Regions from separate parts of the Homo sapiens genome. Here region 2 is linked to region 1. Evidence: promoter capture Hi-C in 16 types of primary human blood cells and fetal thymus (Javierre and others, 2016). All regions are on one chromosome and are shown on one strand. Each heading gives the region's core, a stretch centred on a gene start or on the middle of the fragment in contact. The rest is flanking DNA. Distances are from core to core; before and after follow the strand shown. Region 1 holds the start of CEBPA (CCAAT enhancer binding protein alpha). Region 2 overlaps CEBPG (CCAAT enhancer binding protein gamma).

Region 1 (5,864 bases), core at 1,146-3,645:
ATCTGATCTCTGCCTCCTCCACAGCGCCACCTTGTTCAGGGCAGGACTTCTCTTCATCACAGCACATCCACCCTTGATTCCCATTTGTGCCTCGTGTGCATTTGATGAATGAATGAAGTCCCATCCCCTACTCCTTCTGTCTCCTCCTTCCTCCCAGCAGCCTCTGTGTGACAACTTATCCGTCTCTCCCACTGTCCCAGTTCCCAGAGGCAGGAGCCACCCTCTCATGCATCCCTGGGCTCTCGGCACCCTGCACAGGGCAGGCCCGGGTGGGTGAATTCTGGTTCAATTGTAGGAGGACCTGTGGCCCCTGGGGTTGGCGAACCCCGGGCCGGGAGTCCCACTCCTTGCCATTGTCGCCCCCACACATTCATCAGCCCCCTATTGGACAAAGTCTTATTCCCATTACTGAGGTTTCTTCCAGTCCTACGGGGCAGAGTTCCCGATCTCTGGGCAGGCAACAGCAGCTGTGCAAAAAAGGCCAGACATCGCCTTCCTCCCACAACTCCACAGGCCGGGAACCGTGCATGTACAGTGGCGTTTCTTTGTTCCTAGGTAGGAAAAGCCATTAGTTTTAGCACCGCAGAAAAAAACGCAAATCGCTCTTGGTGCTTTTTGATTTCCGTCCAGGTCTCCCTCCACAGGTGAATGCTATATGAATGGGTCCTGCATTTGGCTCAGCAAGCAGCTCTCCGGCTCACATCGGGATATTTATTTAACGTATCTGGTTTTTACTCCCTCCCGTCCAAAAGCGTCAAGCTAAAAATATCTTGTTTATGAGCTCTGGACCGAAAACGAAGCAGTTGGGCTATTAATCACTGGGACTATGTTGAATAGGAACTTGATTAAAGCGCAGTGTGCGTTGCCCAGATGAAACTGCTTCTTTACTGCGATCGTCGTGGAAGCTCGGGGCTCTCCAGCGGTGTTTTTAGCTGTGCCCCCTCCGGGGCTCCTGGGCGGGTCGTGGCGCCTTGCCAGGCCTAAGGCCACTGTCGGTGAAGGGGGTCTTCCCTCACCTGTAGGCAAGCGCGCCTCTAGCCGGGACGCAGGCGGCGTCAGGCCTCAGCGCCAGTGGCGAGGGGCGGCGCGGGCAAGGACAGGAGACACTTGAGGGCTCCCAAGACTCCATCTGGGCCCAGCTGACGGTCCGTAGCCGCCACCCCGGCCCCGGTAAAGAATGCGAGGGACGCACGTGGCTGGGGGTCTCGGTGGCAAGCTCCTTCCCCCGCCGCGGTGAGAGCATTAGCTGCCGCACTCAAGGGGCCCCAGGGCCTGGCCGCCTCGGTCCCTAGGATCCCGGGGACTACAGCGCCCGGCGAACCACTGGGCAGAGTTCTCCCTGTGCGTGCTCGGACCTGGCAGCCCGGCGGCCTGGACACCCTCGCTCCCGCCGTTGGCGCCCACCTGAATGGGGAGGCGGGGGAGGAAGCGGTGGCTTCGGGCCTCGAGGGCTGCGGCCCCCGCCTCGGAATCCCGGCCCCAGAGTTAAGTTTGTCTCCTCCCTCGGTGCGCCCCTCCCCGTGCTCGCCCCGGCGTCCAGCTCCGCTAGTCTGGGGGGCCCCGCGGTCCCGCAGGAAAAAAAATCGGCGACTCCACGCCGGGTAACAGCGCCGGCCCCGCGCGCCTAGCAAGCCGCGCGCTCCGACCTGGAGAAGTAATTATAAAGAAAGTTTTCCAGCCCGGGCGGATCGACCGGCCAGGTCCTCCAGGCTCCCGGGCCGAGGCCGCCTCCGCTCCCCGCGGGGTCCTAGCGCCCTGCGCGGCGCCGCCCATGGGACCCCGGCGTCCTCCGAGAGGTACCTCTGCGCGGAATCACAGGGGTAGCCTGGAGATCAGAGCTAGGAGACGCAGAGCCACCGCGCTCAGGACCTCTCCGCGCGTCCCAAACGGCCCCCCACCGGCCCCAGCCCCGCTGCTCTGCGCTGCAGCCTCCCCGGGACGCGGGTCCGGGACAGGCCTGGTTCTGGCTTTGAAAGAGAATCCGCGCCCCAGCAGCTCAAGACCAAGACTCGCCCTCCGCCCCCCACCCCTACCCCGTGCAGCCTCGGGATACTCCTGGGCTCCCGGCCGTGGCTGGATACGGGCGCCTAGGGCAGGCAGGAGGAGGGGGCCCCCGCTACCGACCACGTGGGCGCGGGGGCGACGGCCGGGCCGGGGGCGGAGCTTGGAGCGAGCGCCGCGGCTCTGCTGGGCGCGCTGGAGGCGGTGGGCGTTGCGCCGCGGCCTGCCTGGGGAGCGCGGCGCTGTGCCGCGCTGGTTCGCCGCCCCATGCCGGCCGCGCGCTAGGACCCAGCAGGCGCCGCGCCGCCGCAGCCCGGGGACAGAGGCCGCCTCGGACTCTAGGGGGCGACGCGGCCTGCCGGGTATAAAAGCTGGGCCGGCGCGGGCCGGGCCATTCGCGACCCGGAGGTGCGCGGGCGCGGGCGAGCAGGGTCTCCGGGTGGGCGGCGGCGACGCCCCGCGCAGGCTGGAGGCCGCCGAGGCTCGCCATGCCGGGAGAACTCTAACTCCCCCATGGAGTCGGCCGACTTCTACGAGGCGGAGCCGCGGCCCCCGATGAGCAGCCACCTGCAGAGCCCCCCGCACGCGCCCAGCAGCGCCGCCTTCGGCTTTCCCCGGGGCGCGGGCCCCGCGCAGCCTCCCGCCCCACCTGCCGCCCCGGAGCCGCTGGGCGGCATCTGCGAGCACGAGACGTCCATCGACATCAGCGCCTACATCGACCCGGCCGCCTTCAACGACGAGTTCCTGGCCGACCTGTTCCAGCACAGCCGGCAGCAGGAGAAGGCCAAGGCGGCCGTGGGCCCCACGGGCGGCGGCGGCGGCGGCGACTTTGACTACCCGGGCGCGCCCGCGGGCCCCGGCGGCGCCGTCATGCCCGGGGGAGCGCACGGGCCCCCGCCCGGCTACGGCTGCGCGGCCGCCGGCTACCTGGACGGCAGGCTGGAGCCCCTGTACGAGCGCGTCGGGGCGCCGGCGCTGCGGCCGCTGGTGATCAAGCAGGAGCCCCGCGAGGAGGATGAAGCCAAGCAGCTGGCGCTGGCCGGCCTCTTCCCTTACCAGCCGCCGCCGCCGCCGCCGCCCTCGCACCCGCACCCGCACCCGCCGCCCGCGCACCTGGCCGCCCCGCACCTGCAGTTCCAGATCGCGCACTGCGGCCAGACCACCATGCACCTGCAGCCCGGTCACCCCACGCCGCCGCCCACGCCCGTGCCCAGCCCGCACCCCGCGCCCGCGCTCGGTGCCGCCGGCCTGCCGGGCCCTGGCAGCGCGCTCAAGGGGCTGGGCGCCGCGCACCCCGACCTCCGCGCGAGTGGCGGCAGCGGCGCGGGCAAGGCCAAGAAGTCGGTGGACAAGAACAGCAACGAGTACCGGGTGCGGCGCGAGCGCAACAACATCGCGGTGCGCAAGAGCCGCGACAAGGCCAAGCAGCGCAACGTGGAGACGCAGCAGAAGGTGCTGGAGCTGACCAGTGACAATGACCGCCTGCGCAAGCGGGTGGAACAGCTGAGCCGCGAACTGGACACGCTGCGGGGCATCTTCCGCCAGCTGCCAGAGAGCTCCTTGGTCAAGGCCATGGGCAACTGCGCGTGAGGCGCGCGGCTGTGGGACCGCCCTGGGCCAGCCTCCGGCGGGGACCCAGGGAGTGGTTTGGGGTCGCCGGATCTCGAGGCTTGCCCGAGCCGTGCGAGCCAGGACTAGGAGATTCCGGTGCCTCCTGAAAGCCTGGCCTGCTCCGCGTGTCCCCTCCCTTCCTCTGCGCCGGACTTGGTGCGTCTAAGATGAGGGGGCCAGGCGGTGGCTTCTCCCTGCGAGGAGGGGAGAATTCTTGGGGCTGAGCTGGGAGCCCGGCAACTCTAGTATTTAGGATAACCTTGTGCCTTGGAAATGCAAACTCACCGCTCCAATGCCTACTGAGTAGGGGGAGCAAATCGTGCCTTGTCATTTTATTTGGAGGTTTCCTGCCTCCTTCCCGAGGCTACAGCAGACCCCCATGAGAGAAGGAGGGGAGCAGGCCCGTGGCAGGAGGAGGGCTCAGGGAGCTGAGATCCCGACAAGCCCGCCAGCCCCAGCCGCTCCTCCACGCCTGTCCTTAGAAAGGGGTGGAAACATAGGGACTTGGGGCTTGGAACCTAAGGTTGTTCCCCTAGTTCTACATGAAGGTGGAGGGTCTCTAGTTCCACGCCTCTCCCACCTCCCTCCGCACACACCCCACCCCAGCCTGCTATAGGCTGGGCTTCCCCTTGGGGCGGAACTCACTGCGATGGGGGTCACCAGGTGACCAGTGGGAGCCCCCACCCCGAGTCACACCAGAAAGCTAGGTCGTGGGTCAGCTCTGAGGATGTATACCCCTGGTGGGAGAGGGAGACCTAGAGATCTGGCTGTGGGGCGGGCATGGGGGGTGAAGGGCCACTGGGACCCTCAGCCTTGTTTGTACTGTATGCCTTCAGCATTGCCTAGGAACACGAAGCACGATCAGTCCATCCCAGAGGGACCGGAGTTATGACAAGCTTTCCAAATATTTTGCTTTATCAGCCGATATCAACACTTGTATCTGGCCTCTGTGCCCCAGCAGTGCCTTGTGCAATGTGAATGTGCGCGTCTCTGCTAAACCACCATTTTATTTGGTTTTTGTTTTGTTTTGGTTTTGCTCGGATACTTGCCAAAATGAGACTCTCCGTCGGCAGCTGGGGGAAGGGTCTGAGACTCCCTTTCCTTTTGGTTTTGGGATTACTTTTGATCCTGGGGGACCAATGAGGTGAGGGGGGTTCTCCTTTGCCCTCAGCTTTCCCCAGCCCCTCCGGCCTGGGCTGCCCACAAGGCTTGTCCCCCAGAGGCCCTGGCTCCTGGTCGGGAAGGGAGGTGGCCTCCCGCCAACGCATCACTGGGGCTGGGAGCAGGGAAGGACGGCTTGGTTCTCTTCTTTTGGGGAGAACGTAGAGTCTCACTCTAGATGTTTTATGTATTATATCTATAATATAAACATATCAAAGTCAATGTCGGTGTCTTTTTAAAACCAGAAAGAAGCTACTTCCAAGGTTGTCTGTGGGCCAGGTCACATTTGTAAATAATACAGCATTTTCCCTGGCGGCAATCCTGACTTTCATGAGCTCTCCATCCATCCTGAGCCCCTCTTACCCTAAGGGGGTGACTTACTTCCCCCAGGCAAGACAAATAAATAGCAGAGGACAAGGCTCCAAATGGAGTATGTCCAGAGCCTGAAGGCAGTCTCTTGGGGTCAGGGGAGGGGGCTGAAGGGGTTACTGGGCTGAGGCCTTGGCGAGGCTTCTTATCTGCCCCGGGGAGGAGGAGAGGGAGTCCTCTGCCTGAGGGGTAGGCCTGGCTAAGCAGCCCTAGGCTCAAGGAGCCCTTTGTGCAGACTTCCTTGCAAATCACCTACAGCTGCAGCCCTGGCCACTCACACACACCGCAGCTCCAGATTCCAGCAGGACCCTCGGCCAGCAGGAAGAGGCCTCCAGTGGTAGGACCCTCCAACCCTCTCCTCTTTCCCTAGACCATGTGGCTACACCCTACCCCTGCGAGGCCCGAAGGCAGCCTGAAGAGAGAGACCCCTCCATCCAGCCCTCCACACCTGCCCAGCCCCAGCCCTCACAAGAAAGGGGGCTGAGGCAGGCCTGCAACAGGGGTCTGGTCCTGCCCCACACACTGGCTGTTCAAGAACCCACCCAGCATCCACACTCCCCACTGCATTCATCCCAGACCCAGCAGGGGACTGAGTGCTGGTGTGCCCCCAACTCCAATGAGCACCCTGTAAGGTCAGGCACTCCGGCACCCCCTTAGCAGCAGTGACAGCCAAGCAAGGGAGGGCAGCCCTTATCCCTGAACTAACAAGGCCCGGGAGAAAG
Region 2 (5,592 bases), core at 863-3,362, 78 kb before region 1:
CTGCACTGGCATCCCAACAACTGATTGCAGGGGCCAGCAGCAGGAAGAGCTGCTCTGATCTCACCATCCGCAGCCAAAACCAGCCAAAGAGCACCCATCCCAGGAGACTCAGATGCAGCTAGAAATTTATGCTAAAGCCTAACTCCTAACTATGCTGGACCTGCCCACAAGGGCAGATCACATCCTAGTGGTTCACAGGTCACACACAGAACAAAAGTTACAAAAGTCACCTCACAATTCCCGAAGCTCTAAATTGATTCATTCCCCACACGTGGTTTCCCTAATTTTATACTGATAAATCTATCAAATTAAAAGCTTTCATTTCCAACCACTTCAATAAGATAGACAACACCATGCTTAACATTTTTGTTCTCTGCCTAATTGCTTGCTTCTGCTAAACTTTGCATTTCCATGGCTAATAGGAAAGCTTGAACCCATTTTTCCAAAAGTTCCAATCTTGTGTTCTGATTTGAAATACTGAGTACACACCCCTGATGCTTTCTCTAAAGTTTCTTTTTCAAGATACTTAAGTCAATTCATATAACTGGTATAAATTCCATGGGAGCATCGAATTCCCAAGAGATTTAAATGTCTGTAGCGCCTACCATAGGTGCTTGCTTATACATTCAAGTGACCTAATGCATCTCCAATTAAGTTAATTATGTAACACCAATCAGCTGCTAAGGAGCCAGTAGGATCCTGTGGGTGTGTCCTGGCTAGTTTTTCAAAACATCTCTCATCCTTCATGGGTAGATTCATACTCCAAGGTAAGCTGGTGTTGGACCCTAGAAACCCCTATCCTGTCTCCTGGCTCTATAGGGAGTTAACAGCCCTCCTGGGACAGCTTCTCCTGGGCTCCAGTTTTACATTCAGAAGGACCTCACGACTCTTAAGAATGGCTTTGCTGAGTTGCTGGACACCATGATGTCTTCTCCTGCCCAGAAACGGCACGGTCAGCAATCTTCCACCAACCGGAGGGTGCAACTTGAGTTTTATTCTGGCTACATCATCCCAAGTCCTAGTATGAAACAGCAATGTGGCCAAAAATGACCATGTTCAAATAAGATACCTGATAACACAAACTTTTAAATCAGTTATGACTCAGTCTCTCATCTCCAGCCCAGGCACACAAAAAATACACAAATTTGAGCTAGAACTGTGCTAAGAAAAAAAGAGAAAGAAAAGAAAGCAAAAGAGAGAAGAAAAAACGTTGACAAAGACAATCTAAACTACCAACACTGACGTAAGCCAGACTCTAGAGTCCCTACTTTAGCGACTGCCATTTTTTAGTCTCAACAAAAATGTCAATATCCTGAGTTTTATCAGCATTTTCTGAAATAATTTATGGGACACAAAAGCATATAAATGAATAAACAGAAGCAGTGGTACAAAGTCTGGAAAGCCCACTAACCAGAAAAAGAAATGTCACAACAACAATATCAAAAGATGTATTTAAGAGAAATAAATTAAAGGTTAAAACCTTACACTTTCAAGTTTTCTTAGACAATTATTTTGGGAGATGGCATGGAGTTGATACATTTCTCTAATAATCACTTGGTTAAGATCAAATACCAAAATGAGCCTTCAGAAGAAAATTTTGACTTTAAAAGTAACAGCCCCATGGCAGCTATTTTGAACACAAGAGAAACTACCTTCTGAATTAATATTCCAAACCCTCATCAGTAGCTTGTGTCATCAAACTGTTAAGATATTTTGTTTACTAACTTGGTTGTCAAAATTGTATCCAAAAAAACACTAGCATCTGCAGAAACTAAAATTTTGGTACACAAGTTTCTCTACACCACTGAGTTGGGTTTTTAGAATAAAACAATGCCAATCTAAGCCCAAAGGTATCTCAAAAACATAATTCCTATGCTTTAGTTTTATTTTTGTGTTTAATCTATTTGCTTCCTAAATGTTATTTGTATTTTTTAAGTCAATTGGCCACACACTACCTATAAGATGTGATGAAGTTTCTTTACTTAACCTGACATTGCTACTCAAAAACTTGTACTTTTGGGGGAAAACAGTACTAATTATGTTAAAACAAAGTTTATGCCATATATAAAATCACTCCAAATTACACACTCATTGCTTTCTATAGCTCTACGAATTTATAATACATAATTTAGAAGAAAATCACAAATAGATTACCATAGGTGGCATTCAACTTTTCTTAATCCAATTCAGCCTATCCATTAAAACCAAGAACCTTCTGCGCGGCCTGCCAGTTCCCCATTCCTTTTGTCAACTTAAAAAAGAAGCATTTCTTGGGAAGTCAGGATTTATTAAGAACATCGGGATCCCAGATATTTCTTTTTTTACCATATACCTTAACATTTGGGGGATTTTGATTCCCACAAAAACCTCTATCATTTAAAACCAGATATTCGAATTACAAGGCTAACATTTTTAGCTAATCAACTCTTCAGTGCTGATCCCAGAAAATAGCCTCCAATGGGTCTTTGAGTCATGGAAATGGACAACTTTCAGCCATTGACATGAGTGGTGTCGGTGGTCACACCTTTAACATTCAAGCCACAAGCTCTAAAGTCTGGAAAGGGTGAGGTCTACTGTCCTGCATTGTCGCCATCTGCTGTCGTATTTTCAGTGCTAATGGACTGTACGTTGTCTGCAAGGTTGTGTGCATGCTCAAGAAACAAATCTTTGAGTACACTTAATTCCTTGGTCAGCAATTTGATTTTTGCTTCCAACCGTTCATTCTCTTCTTTGAGCTGATTGACTCTCTGCAGTGTGTCTTGTGCTTTCTGCTTGCTTTTCAACCGGCTCTTTTTCACAGCCATGTTGTTCCTCTCTCGGCGTTGCCGATACTCGTCACTGTTTCGATCCATGGGCGAACTCTTTTTGCTCTGCTTGCTGGGAGCCACAGCTTTGCCTCCTCCCCCAGGGCCAGCAGGCACCAGCTGAGGAACCTGCTGTAAGCCGCTGGCATGTGCCTGGGTATGGATAACACTAATTCCGTTCACCCCTGGAGTGCTGTTTTGCTGCGATATCTTGCTCATTTGGGCACTCTCCCTTGCCAACACAGAACAGGTAGAAATGAGAGCAGGGTGATCAATGGTTTCCACGCTAAGCTGCCAAAAAATCTTCACATGTACCTAGTTAAAAAATAAATTGCATTAAAATATTTGAAATGACAGGATCAAATGAGATCAAACTTGTACGTACCTAACATCAGGCCAACATTAATTGATTCTGCTGAGAAAAGTCTACAGCAACTGCCAACTGTTCCAATGTTTCTGAAGTCTAAATCATTTCACTTAGAAAGGTAAGTAAGCACAGAAGCACCATCAGGCGAAACTCAGCCCACCTGGATCCCTGAGGGCACTGCCCCTCTGCGATTGTTATCAAAAATGGGAGGAAAACAAAAGACTTCCACTAATTAGGTGGCGCATGTGAACTAACAGCACTTGACAATCTCCCAGGGAGGAGCTGCAGCTGACTGTAGTAGGAGAGACACCTGCAATGAAAGGGGGGAAAAGTTTCCATTGTTGGTTCAAGTCAAAACAGAAGGCTGGGGTTGCGCACCCTGTCTCCAGCGCTCTCATGCTATCACCCCTGCGGGTTCCATGTTCTAATATGCAGAGAGGGAGTCATCGAGGACTTGAGTTCTCTCCCAGAGCTCTCTTCATCGGATATTTTGAAAAGGTAGTTTTTTGCTTTATTTTTTTAATGACCTCAAATGATAATTCCACAGTTTAACCAAATTTACTGAGTCAGTTTCTTGAATTTAGGAGCTCTGACACTCAATTTGCTCCCCATCCCACCAAGCTTGTAAAAAGTGTGTTTTTTCTTCTTGACATAATTAGTAAAACTCAAAACACACTCAACCTGAAACCACAAGGAAAGAAACAGAAGCCCTCATGATGCATCCAAGGAAGTGCGGGTCCTGGGACCCAGGCTGGACAAAGGAGCTGAGCAGCTGCCGTGCCTGTGGCCACTTCGTGCTACCAAATGAGCTCGTGTGAGCTCGGAGGACGCACCAGCTCTGAAGCATCCCTGTGCTGCTGCCTGCAGAAATGAAGGCACGGTTTCGAAAAGCAGTCACATGTGGATTACTCTGAATCCAATTAAGTCCCTACAGCTGCCCCAAGAAGTGTAAAAGTGTGACTATCCTATCAACATGAGGCCACTTCAAGACAAACTAAGTTCAGTGAACGGTGTCCACCAAGGAATCAGGGCACTCTTAGAAATTTAGAAAGCAGTGTTAGGAACATAAAACTATCCTGTTCTCTTTTCACAAAACTGCTAAAATCACATCAGTGGAAAAAATCTGGAGTCAGATTTATGCAGTGATCCCACAATGAGGGAAAGCTCAGTTAGCAAACACCAGTAGCTACACCCAAACCTTCAGCCAGGCAATTCTGTACACTGTTTATTGGTCTCTTTTTAAAAAACATCTTTGCTTTGAAAAGTCCATGTGTCATTACTTTCCATTGTTTTCAAAGCCACACAGCCGACTCTGAGCTAGTAGGTCATCTGTTCTCACGCCAACACTAAGGCAAGACAAAAAGCATCCCTCCAAACCATGAGGGCGATCCACTCCAAGCCTATCTTCAGTAATGGACAGTTCACAATTTCCCTTGGTCATCATTAGGTTGCCTCATTTTTCTTCCAGTAGAAAAGTGGCTGTTTAGTATTAATCTGAGCCACATTTAGTGCCACCTAACATTATTATTATCCATTTGGTGTCAAGTGAGAGGTGCTTTACTCAATTTTTAAGAACTTGTTTAACACCTCCCCTGAGACTGTCTTAACAATCATAATCATGTTCACCTTATTTCTCTACTTTTTTTTTAATATACCAATTATATTTTTAGCCTTTAAAGCTCTCTACAGTCAACTTGTCCATGCTCAGAGATAGCAATGATCCAAAGCGGTAGAGACCAGTGACCAGGCCAGTTCTTGTCTTGGCTGTGGCTCCCCCTATTTTAGTTTGGGCAAATCTCTTTTCTTCCATGGCTGTCTGTTCCCCACATGCAAATGAGGGATGTGGAATAGTAAGACACTTTCCTACAGACAACACACCACGACCTTCAGTCACTAACAAACAGCTCTTACTCACTACAGGGTCCACGTTCAGCAACGTTCACGCCTGTTTCCGTATCCAAAGATACAGGAACAGGGAAGGGCTTTTTCACCTCTGCCTGACTCATCTTGCAAGGTACTAGGCTGAACGTGTGTGGTAGGTGAGGTTTTAAAGGTAAGCCCTTTGGCCTGAAAAGAGTATTCACTGAACCTACAAACTGGTGAAAATGTAAGAAAGAGAAACTTGGAGATAATCAAAATAACTCCAAGAATGTTTTGTTTAGTAAGTTCTTTAACCATATAAATAGCTCTTAAAGTGAAGATTAACCAAGTAAAAGGGGATCAAAGAGCTAAGTGATTTTACACTGAAAAGGCCACTCTCATTTACGCTTTGTTCCTCCACACACATTTACTGAACACCTACAACAGGCAAAAAGTGTTTATTTGAAAGCTGGACACTCAGTCCTAAATTCAAGTCTGGCTCCTCTGTGGACAAACACTATTCCAAAGTTCAGGCTACAGGATGCAGGGCGGCGCCTGGCT

Evidence for each region. Contacts are between HindIII fragments. The CHiCAGO score rates a contact against its expected background, and 5 or more counts as called.
Region 2: a fragment that was not itself captured here is called in contact with the fragment with the promoter of CEBPA in region 1 in 5 of 17 cell types (M0 macrophages, M2 macrophages, M1 macrophages and 2 more); the score reaches 10.6 in M0 macrophages.

What each region holds. Positions count from the first base shown.
Region 1 is chr19:33,299,065-33,304,928 of GRCh38, reverse strand. CEBPA (CCAAT enhancer binding protein alpha) reads left to right here and starts at 2,395. Exons shown (of 1, transcript NM_004364.5): 1 at 2,395-4,995. The coding sequence starts at 2,515. The coding sequence ends at 3,591. It overlaps CEBPA-DT (CEBPA divergent transcript), which reads right to left and starts at 2,108. Exons shown (of 1, transcript NR_026887.2): 1 at 1-2,108. RefSeq lists silencers at 1,655-1,914, 1,995-2,564. The HindIII fragment of the contact is 12,770 bases long and covers 1-4,510 here.
Region 2 is chr19:33,376,671-33,382,262 of GRCh38, reverse strand. It overlaps CEBPG (CCAAT enhancer binding protein gamma), which reads right to left. Exons shown (of 2, transcript NM_001806.4): 2 at 1-3,119. The coding sequence starts at 3,023. The coding sequence ends at 2,571. Among named protein-coding and RNA genes, the nearest start is that of CEBPG, 5.8 kb to the right of the region's middle. RefSeq lists an enhancer at 3,767-4,460. The HindIII fragment of the contact is 3,365 bases long and covers 430-3,794 here.